3 separate regions of the Homo sapiens genome follow, and regions 2 and 3 are each linked to region 1. Evidence: promoter capture Hi-C in 16 types of primary human blood cells and fetal thymus (Javierre and others, 2016). All regions are on one chromosome and are shown on one strand. Each heading gives the region's core, a stretch centred on a gene start or on the middle of the fragment in contact. The rest is flanking DNA. Distances are from core to core; before and after follow the strand shown.

Evidence for each region. The method cuts DNA at HindIII sites, captures the fragments that hold promoters and counts their contacts. A CHiCAGO score of 5 or more calls a contact.
Region 2: a contact is called between a fragment that was not itself captured here and the fragment with the promoter of HTR6 in region 1, in 4 of 17 cell types (naive CD4 T cells, non-activated CD4 T cells, total CD8 T cells and 1 more). The highest score is 6.5, in naive CD4 T cells.
Region 3: a fragment that was not itself captured here is called in contact with the fragment with the promoter of HTR6 in region 1 in 7 of 17 cell types (megakaryocytes, naive CD4 T cells, naive CD8 T cells and 4 more); the score reaches 8.4 in megakaryocytes.

The regions. Positions count from the first base shown.
Region 1 is chr1:19,663,294-19,666,365 of GRCh38, reverse strand. HTR6 (5-hydroxytryptamine receptor 6) reads right to left here and starts at 1,491. Exons shown (of 3, transcript NM_000871.3): 1 at 1-1,491. The coding sequence starts at 612. RefSeq lists enhancers at 1-696, 697-1,669 and a silencer at 1,448-1,677. The HindIII fragment of the contact is 8,359 bases long and covers 1-3,072 here.
Region 2 is chr1:19,419,904-19,422,975 of GRCh38, reverse strand. The region is part of intron 1 of CAPZB (capping actin protein of muscle Z-line subunit beta); the gene reads left to right. Among named protein-coding and RNA genes, the nearest start is that of CAPZB, 64 kb to the left of the region's middle. RefSeq lists an enhancer at 3,032-3,072. The HindIII fragment of the contact is 3,875 bases long and covers 1-3,072 here.
Region 3 is chr1:19,485,249-19,488,320 of GRCh38, reverse strand. CAPZB (capping actin protein of muscle Z-line subunit beta) reads left to right here and starts at 2,782. Exons shown (of 9, transcript NM_004930.5): 1 at 2,782-2,885. The coding sequence starts at 2,883. It also overlaps a transcript of LOC105376819 not described here. RefSeq lists enhancers at 439-946, 2,980-3,072 and silencers at 2,206-2,935, 2,966-3,072. The HindIII fragment of the contact is 175 bases long and covers 1,415-1,589 here.

The DNA of each region.
Region 1 (3,072 bases), core at 242-2,741:
TATGGCACCCGAGGGCAGGAAGAAGGTGAGGCCCGACGCCACAAGGACAAAAGGCAGGCTGGCCAGCAGGCGGCACTGGCCAGGGACGGGTGGCCGTGCGTGGCCCAGCTCGTGCCAGCCCAGCAGCAGGGGCAGGAAGGAGGCGAGAGCGGCGAGGCTCCAGGCGCCCAGGACTAGGGCCAGGGCACGCAGGGGCGTCATGCGCAGCTTGTAGCGCAGCGGCGAGAGGATGAGCAGGTAGCGGTCCAGGCTGATGAGGCAGAGGTTGAGGATGGAGGCGCTGCAGCACATCACGTCGAAGGCGGTCCAGAGCAGGCAGAGGCCGCGCGCCAGCACCCAGCGCCCGTACAGCGCGTTCAGCATGGCCGGCGGCATCACCACCAGCCCCACCATCAGGTCAGACGTGAAGAGCGACACCAGGAAGAAGTTGGACGTGTTGCGCAGCGCGGGCTGAGTGCAGATGAGCGCGATCAGCAGCGAGTTGGCCGCCGCCGTCAGCGCGATGACCACGCACAGCGCGGCCGCCACCCAGCCGCTGCCCCCCGGGGCCGACGGCGGCCCTGCCCCCCAGGCCGGGGTGCTATTGGCGGTTGGGCCCGGCTCTGGGACCATGAGGACCGAGGGTGGACGGCAAGGGAGTGATAGGGTGGCGGGAAAGCAGATGAGGGCCCCGGCGAAGCGCAGGCTGGACGGGGACCGTCCGTGAGAACAGACCGCGACTCACCACGCCCCCCGGGGGAGGTGAGTGGGGGGACATGGGCGGGGGCGCTGGGTCGCGCTAGGTCAGGGGGCAGCGACTACAGGAGGACACAGTGTGGCTATTTGGGCGCCCTCGGGGATGGGGCAGGAACTCCTGGAGCAAACGGGTTGGAAGTTTGGGGAGGGGCACCCGATGAGCCGAGGCCCCTGAAGGAAGCGGCGGGAAGTCAAGCAGAGGTCGGATGGGCTCCCTGGGGTGGGAGCAGAGCCCCCTGGAGGGGGCGGGCGGCAAGATAGGGGAGGGGCGTCCGGCCGGGTCAGAGTGCGGGGAAGTGGGAACGCGGGGAGGTGGGTGAGGGGGGTGAATGGGCGCTCTCGGGCCGGAGCAGGCTCCCCGCGGCCGGTGGGCGTGTGGGGTACCAGGGCGGGGGCCTAGGGGCCGGAGCAAAGCCGCCCCTGGGAAAGGCAGGTCTCAGCTGGCGCGGAGGCACCGGGATCCGGCGCACACGGCCTGTGCGGCGCGGGGGTTCGCCGGGGCCGCCAGGCCCCGCGGGAAGAGGAGGGCAGCGGCCGCGCGGCGCCCCCTCCCCACCCGGCAGCAGGGTCGCCTCCGTCTCCCGCCCGCACTGGTACCTGGGGCGCTCTGGCTGCTCCGCCGCCTGCGACTGCGGCAAGCGCCGCGGGGCTGCGAGAGGAAGAGGCGGCCGCGGGCCGGGCGGGCGGCGGGACCGGGTCTCCCGAGCCCGGGAGGCGCCGCGAGGGGCCCGCACGCGCGGAGGAGAGGCCGGGTGCAGCCTGGAGCGCGCGGTCCCCGCGCCGCGGAGCGTGCGCCCCGCCTCGCGGTGGGCGGGGAGAGCCGAGCCCTGGCCCTGCAGGAGGGCGGGGTCCCGGCACCCCGGGCCTGTGGGCCGAAGATCAGAGCGCCCCAGCTGCGAGGGGTCACCTCCCGGGCTGTGGCAGCCCCCACACCCTCAGATGCCCCTCCCAACCCACACGTGGCGGCGGCGCAGGCGGAACTGGGAGCAGGGGGCTGTGACCTGCCCTTATCCAGGGGCTGCTCTCTAATGGGTGCCTGCCCACTCACAACGGGGTCACCGGGCTTTCAGGGGAGCCAGGAGTTGGGAAATATTGGACAAATCGCCTGACACCCCTCTGGGCCTCAGTTGCCATATCTGTAAAATGGGTTAGTAATTCTGGGCATTCTTCACCGTTAGTTTGAGCAAGAAGCTAACCTTCCCCAGGGCCTTTCCCGCAGAAACCATCCCGATCCCCAAAGGGGCCAGGTACTAAGGATGAAGTCCCTGAGCTGTTGGCGCTCCTAGTCTAACAGAGCGTGAACAGATTTGAGAATCCCCAGGCCAGGTGTGTTAAGAGTCGCTGCAGGCAGAGGCGTGGGGTGTGGTTTCCCCTGGGTGTGACCTCCCTCTGTACGTCTCCCCTCTGGCTGAGAAGAGTCTCTGCCTAACACTGCTGTGCAGGTTAATACTGTTATTCATTCATTCATTGAACAGATACTTCAATGCATCTTTTAAGGCGCATCCACTAGATGTCAGGCACTGTTCTGACCCATCAGGACACTACAGTGGCCAAAACAAAGATCCGCACCTCCATGGAGCTTACATTCTAGTGGAAGAAACAGACAATAAACAATAAGCATAATCAACAGAGAAAGTGGGCCCAGCGAGGTGGCTCACGCCTGTAATCCCAGCACTTTGGGAGGCGGAGGTGGGCAGATCACCTGAGGTCAGGAGTTCGAGACCAGCCTGACCAACATGGTAAAACCCCGTCTCTATCAAAAATACAAAAATTAGCTGGGCGTGGTGGCGGGAGCCTGTAATCCCAGCTATTCGGGAGGCTGAGGCAGGAGAATTGCTTGAACCTGGGAGGCAGAGGTTCCAGTGAGCCAAGATTGTGCCACTGCACACTCCAGCCTGGGTGACAGAGCAAGACTCTGTCAAAAAAAAAAAAAAAAAAAAAAAAAAAAAGGAAAGAAAGAAAGAGAGAAAGGAAAGAAAGAGAAAGAAAGAAGAGAAAGAGAAAAAGAAAATGTAGTATAAAGAGAACGGGGTGGGATCATTTTTTCTCCACAGAAACAGAAAAATAATACTTTCCAAATCGAAGGCTCCTGCGCTGTCCCCAGGGGCTTTGTTGTACGGTTCCTACTCCTCCAGTTATTTATTCCGACCCCTACAATAATGCTGAGAGGTAGACGTTAAACTGGGGTTCAGAGAGGCCAAGGGCCTTGCCCCAGATCACCAGCAGCAAGTGGTGAAGTGGACCTGAAACCCAGATCTGCTCGATGCCCATGGCAAAGAGAGCCCATTACAGATGGTCAAAAACCTCCCCTCAGGCACCTCAGAGCCTGCAGCACCC
Region 2 (3,072 bases), core at 410-2,909, 240 kb after region 1:
TTTCACCTTGAGCTTCTCTGGTCAACTTAGGTCTTTTCCTAGATAACACTGCTCAGTTTTCTAGTTAATCCCTTCTGTGTTCTGTCTGGATCACCGTTTCAAATTAGACAGGCTTACTTATATCTTAATTTGCTTTTCATTTATAAGGAGGATTGCTAATATCTAGTTGAGATACTTTCTGAAGACCAGAAATTTTTAGGGGTTATGTGTGGGTTTGTTGTTGTTGTTGTTGTTGTTGTTGTTGTTTTTGAGATGGAGTCTCGCTCTGTCGCCCAGGCTGGAGTGATCTGGGCTCACTGCAAGCTCTGCCTCCCGGGTTCATGCCATTCTCCTGCCTCAGCCTCCCGAGTTGCTGGAACTACAGGCGCCCGCCACCACGCCCGGCTAATTTTTTTGTATTTTTAGTAGAGACGGGGATTCACCACGTTAGCCAGGATGGTCTCAATCTCCTGACCTCATGATCCGCCCGCCTTGGCCTCCCAAAGTGTATGTGTGGTCTTTAAATTAGAATTATATATAAAACGTTTGCCTGCATGTGCAGTCTTCCTGAGGGGGACTTTATTGTCAATCAGATTCTGGGAATCTGCAGCCCCCAAACCAATTATTTTTCGCCCAGGGCTTCTCAGCCTTAACTCTATTAACGTTTGGGCCGGGTGATTCTTTGTTGTGGGGAGGCTGTGTATCGCGTTTTGGGATGTTTAGAAGCATCCCTGGCCCCTACCCATTAGATGTCAGTAGTTTCTTCTCTCCCAGTTGTGACAAAAATGTCTCCATACATTGCCAGATGTCTCCTGGCAGGGTTGTTGGAGGTGTGTGTGTATGTGTGTGCACGTGTGCAAAATCATCCCTAGTTGAGAAATACTAGTTTATACCTTTTAACGAGTTTGACTTGAATCATTTAGGGTTTTCTATTCTTGCTTGGCCAAGAGAATACGTAGCTTTGTATTGAGTTTGAACATTAGCTCTAGTTTAAGGGGAGCAAGAGAGAGAGAGAGAGATCCAGGGCTGGGTTGAGGGGCGGGGAGGTTGGGCAGGGGAATCATTTAAAATTTTTAAAAAGATTTAAAAGCTGTATGTTTATTTGTATGCACTCAATATCCCCAATCATTAAACACATACTACTGTGTATTAAATGTTCCACATGCATTACTAAATTATTGTCACTCTCTAAGGAAGATACTGTGTTCCCATTTTATGGATAAATAAATAGAGACTTCTAGAGATTAAGAAACCCACCCAAGGCCATAAGTTAATGAATGGCAGTATTGGGAATTGAATATGTCTCTCTAGAGTCGAATCAGCTTATCTGTGTGTTCTGCCCAAGACGTGGTGTTAAAATTTCCTCTCATGCCAGTGGGCCAAACCCATCACTGTGGCCTTGGCTGACACATGTTGGCATAGAAATGCGTGGCACAAGTAGGGAATTCATGGTTGCTGGCATTCAGCAAAACAAGTGGTAGAATTTCTGGTGTGGTGTTTTTCTTTTCTCTTTGCAGGGGAGCCAGTTCGTTGTGTGTTCCAGGATGAACTGTCACTGATAGCCATCTTGAGCAAGGGACAGGCTTTTTCTTTTCTTTCATTCTTTTTTAAAACAGCTGGCTGTATATGCCATGTCAATATCTTTTTTTAAAAAAATGAAATTGACTCTCCTTAATAATGTGTTATGTCTCTGGTGACTATGAAGTGGGTCCTTGCCCCACGGCCTACTTGTGGTTAACAGACCTGGAGTGTAAACGGTAATATTCAAAAGTTATATTTCGTTAAGGCCAAATGTGGCATTTTGAGGATTACTTTGTGTATTTTATGAGACTGTAGCTTGTTGATTTAGGCCTTCCAAAAATCCTGAAATTGGTCTGAGCAGAGCAGATTCCAGATACAAATCAGATAGTGGCTGCTTGGGTAGTGTTGGGGACTCCATCTGCCTTACTTGGAGTCACCTGTACTTCTAAGAGTTGCATACACAGGTCTTCACCCTTGTACCTGGCCCACCTTTCTCACTTTATTTCTTGTCTCATCTCCTGAGGTCTAGCCTTCTGTGTTAGAACCCACTGTGCATTGAATTTACTTTGCATTTTACCAGCCTTGCCTCCGCTCTGTTCCCTTCCTCTCCCCCTCCCTTTATTTATTTATTTTTTATATGTTTATGGTGACTGGCACATGGTGGCTCTGAGTAAATATTTGCAGCATATGTACTGTGAGGAGAGTATGGTGAAGCACAGGATGCATAGCTTTAAAAAGGTGCTTGGGCTGGGCACGATGGCTCATGCTTGTAATCCCGGCACTTTGGGAGGCCAAGGCAGTTCGACTGCTTGAGCCCAGGAGTTCAAGACCACCCTGGGCAATATGGCAAAACCCCATGTTCCCCCCCTCCCCCCCAAAAAAAACTACAAAATTAGCCAGGTGTGGTGGCATGCACCTGTGGTCCCAGCTACTTTGGAGGCTGAGGTGGGAGGATCACTTGAGCCTGGAAAGTGGGGGTTGTAGGGAGCCAAGATCATGCCACTACACTCCAGCCTGGGTGACACAGCAAGACCCTATCTTTAAAAAATGAAAAACATTTTTTAAAAGAGTGCTTGATAAACAAGAGTAATGGTTGTCTTTCCAGTCCTTGCCTCTGCAGTGACATAGTTTACTGCATTTGCAGTCCAGTTTGCTGGGTGGAGTGAGCTCTTGACTGTAGTGTGGTTCAGGTCTTAGTGTCCTAAGTTTCTATTGAATGAATGAAGCACTTTTAACCCCGTGTGCATCTTGCCACTTGTTCTTTGCCTGGCTTTTCTCCCTCCCTTGGAGCTTCTCAAGGAACCTGGCCTGGGGATGTTACCTGATGTTTACACCCAGGTTACAACAAAGGGCAAAAGTAATCCGCTACTGGAGTGTGTTCACCATGGAACCAACTGGGGGGCACGACATCTGCAGCCACCAGGGCCTGTTGAGCAGGAGCAGGGGAGCCGGTGAGGGAGCTTTCTGACGTCTCCAGCCTGCTTCCACTTCTTTCAGGGTCTTTTGGATGCCCCCACTTGAGACAGAGACTGCTGTCAAAGGGGAGCAAACAGCCTGCACAGTCGCCCCCCG
Region 3 (3,072 bases), core at 253-2,752, 180 kb after region 1:
ATTGCGCCACTGCACTCCAGTCTGGGCAACAGAACTGAGACACTGTCTCAAAACAAAAAACAACAGAAGACAAAGTCTTTAAATATGAAAAAAAAAATCTTAGCATCATCCTTGATTCCTTTCTTCTCATGCCTACCACCAATACATCAGGAAATACCTAGAATACTATCTACTTCTTGCCATCTCCAATGCTACTACCCTGGTCTAAGCCAGCTTCATCTCTCTGCTGTGTGACCTTGGGCAAGCTCCTTACCTTTTCAGGCTTCTGTCATGAGGATTAAATGGCTTATTATCTGTAAGGTGCTTAACAGTGTTCATCACATAGGATGTGCCATATCAGTGCTTTTTAAATAAATAAATGTCCTCAATATAGAAATGGCTTTCTAAGGCCCTAGTCCCCCTACAGTCCATTCAGAACACAGCAGCCTCATGATCCTTTTAAAGCCTAGGTCAAATCTTGTCATTGCCCTGTCCTTCAGCTCCTGCTCGACCTAGGCTAGCCACACTGGCCTCCTGTCTGGCCCTTGAAAACACACCAGTGCTGATGCAGCACTGTCACCTTCAGGGTTTTTACCCTTGCTGCTCCTTGTGCCTCTGCTATCCACACGGCTTGCTCCCTCCTTCCCTTCAGCTATATGATCAAATATTGCTAAGTTAGGCCTTGCCTGCCTACCTGTTTGCTTGAATTTTTCTCATTATCTCTAATCACTACCCGACACTGTATTATTATTATTACTATTTTATTTTTGAGACGAAGTCTCTCTCTGTCGCCCAGGCTGGAGTGCAGTGGCGCGATCTCGGCTCACTGCAAGCTCCGCCTCCCGGGTTCACGCCATTCTCCTGCCTCAGCCTCCCGAGTAGCTGGGACTACAGGCGCCCGTCATCCCGCCCAGCTAATTTTTTTATTTTTAGTAGAGACGGAGTTTCACCGTGTTAGCCAAGATGGTCTCGATCTCCTGACCCCGTGATCCGCCCACCTCGGCCTCCCAAAGTGCTAGGATTACAGGCGTGAGCCACTGCGCCCGGCCTCGGCTAACTTTGTGTATTTTTAGTAGACGGGGTTTCGCCATGTTAGCCAGGCTGATCTGGAACTCCTGACTTCAAGCGATTGCCCACCTCGGCCTCCCAAAGTGCTGAGATTACAGGCGTGAGCCACTGTGCCTGGCCTTGGACACTGTATTTGCCTGGTGGCCGACTGTCTCCCTGACAACACTCAAGCTCCACAACCATGTGGGTTATTTTGCTCATTGCTCTATTTCCAGAGCCTAGCACAGTGCTTGGCACATAGCAGATGCTCAATAAGTATCTACTGCGTGTGCCATTCTCTTCCTTGAATTTCTGTAATACTCATCCAATACCATTCTTGCGAGACTTACCCGTATGCTTTTTCTGCCAGTGGCTACCTGTGAAAGCTTCGACTTGTCTATGAGCTCCCTGAGGACAGGGCCTGGCTCAGGGAAACAATTCCTGTCATCTGTGCAGTTTACCATCCCCTCACAGATCGCCTAATTTGATTTAACCAAAGCAAACAGGCCACGGAGGCAGATATTGTTAGCAATCCAGATCTCTCCTGCTACCTAGACTAAGCTTAACAAATATTTGATTGAGAGAGAGAGAGAGAGATTGGGAGAGAGAAACTTGAGTCACTTTGTGGAGCGAGGAAGCCCTTCTGGGCTAATGGAATGGTTCTCTGTAGCACATTCAACAGTACTCATAACAGCTAGCATTTGTTGAACTTAATTTTTTTTCTTTTGAGACAGAGTCTTGCTCTGTCGCCAGGCTGGGGTGCAGTGGCGCGATCTTGGCTCACTGCAACCTCTGCCCCCGGGTTCAAACGATTCTCCTGCCTCAGCCTCCCGAGTAGCTGGGACTATAGGAGCGAACCACCACGCCCAGCTAATTTTTGTATTTTTAGTAGAAACGGGGTTTCACCATGTTGGCCAGGATGGTCTCGATCTCTTGACCTTGGCCCGCCTCGGCCTTCCAAAGTGCTGGGATTACAGGCGTGAGCCACCGCGGCCGACCTGTTGAACTTAATTTTCTAATCTCTACCTGTGTCATCCTCACAGATATTCTGTCTGCAGCTATACCGGCAGGGATCTTTATGTCTTATCTGTTATCTTCCGGTGCCTAAACAAGGCCTGGCACATAGTAGGTGCTGAATAAATGGCGTCAGCCCGAGGCTCCTCAATTCGTGCCCGGGCTCAGGTGCAGCGCGGCGCTCCAGATCCTGCCGTAGCGAGCGGCAGCGCTGGGCTCCTGCCCCGCTCCCGGCGCGCTCCCCCAGTGCTGGGTTGGGCTGGGTTGGGCTGGGCCGGGCCGGTCCGCGCTCGGCGGCAGTTCCGGGTGCGCCGCAGGAGTGAGCGCGTGCACGGGGTGGGGCGCGGAGGGCCGGTCCCCTCCCAGCCGCGGTGCCTTCCGCATCCCCGCCCGCGGGGACTGTGGGGTGCGGTTCCCTCGCCGCCACTCGCTGCTGCAGGCCCAGAGTCGGGGACTGGACCTCAGACAGCCAGGAGACCTTTCCGCCCCGGCCCGCAACCCGTGCCGGGGACTCCCGGCAGCCGCGCCGCGCAGCGCCGCGCCCCGCCCCGCCTCGCAGGCCCCGCCCCCGCACCCCGTCGGCGCCCGCCTCTCGCGCCGCTCTCCATACTTGGCGATCGCCGCAGCCCCGCGCGCTCATTGGCCGCGAGCTGGCGGCGTGGGGGGCGGGCCCGGGCCGGGCCGGGGCGGGGAAGGAAGGTGGCGGCGGCCCGGCGCGGGGGGAGGGGGGTGCTGACCCGGATGTTCACTCCTGGGCACCCGGGGAAGTGGAAGCGCCGGGCCCTGCTGCGGGGGGGAGAGCCACTGACGCCGGGACCGGGACCGCCGCCGCCGCCGCCACCATGGTAAAGGCCGCACGGCCCCCTCCCCGGCCCGGGGGCCCCTCCGGAGCTCGCGTCCCCCTCCCCCTGCCCATCCCTGGCCTGGGACGGGTGGCTTCCCGGGGTGGGGGAGGGGCGGGGTCCCGGACCCTGGGTGGACCCGGTCCCTCCCCGCCCAGGAGGGTGCCGCCGGCGCGGACGACTTGGGTGG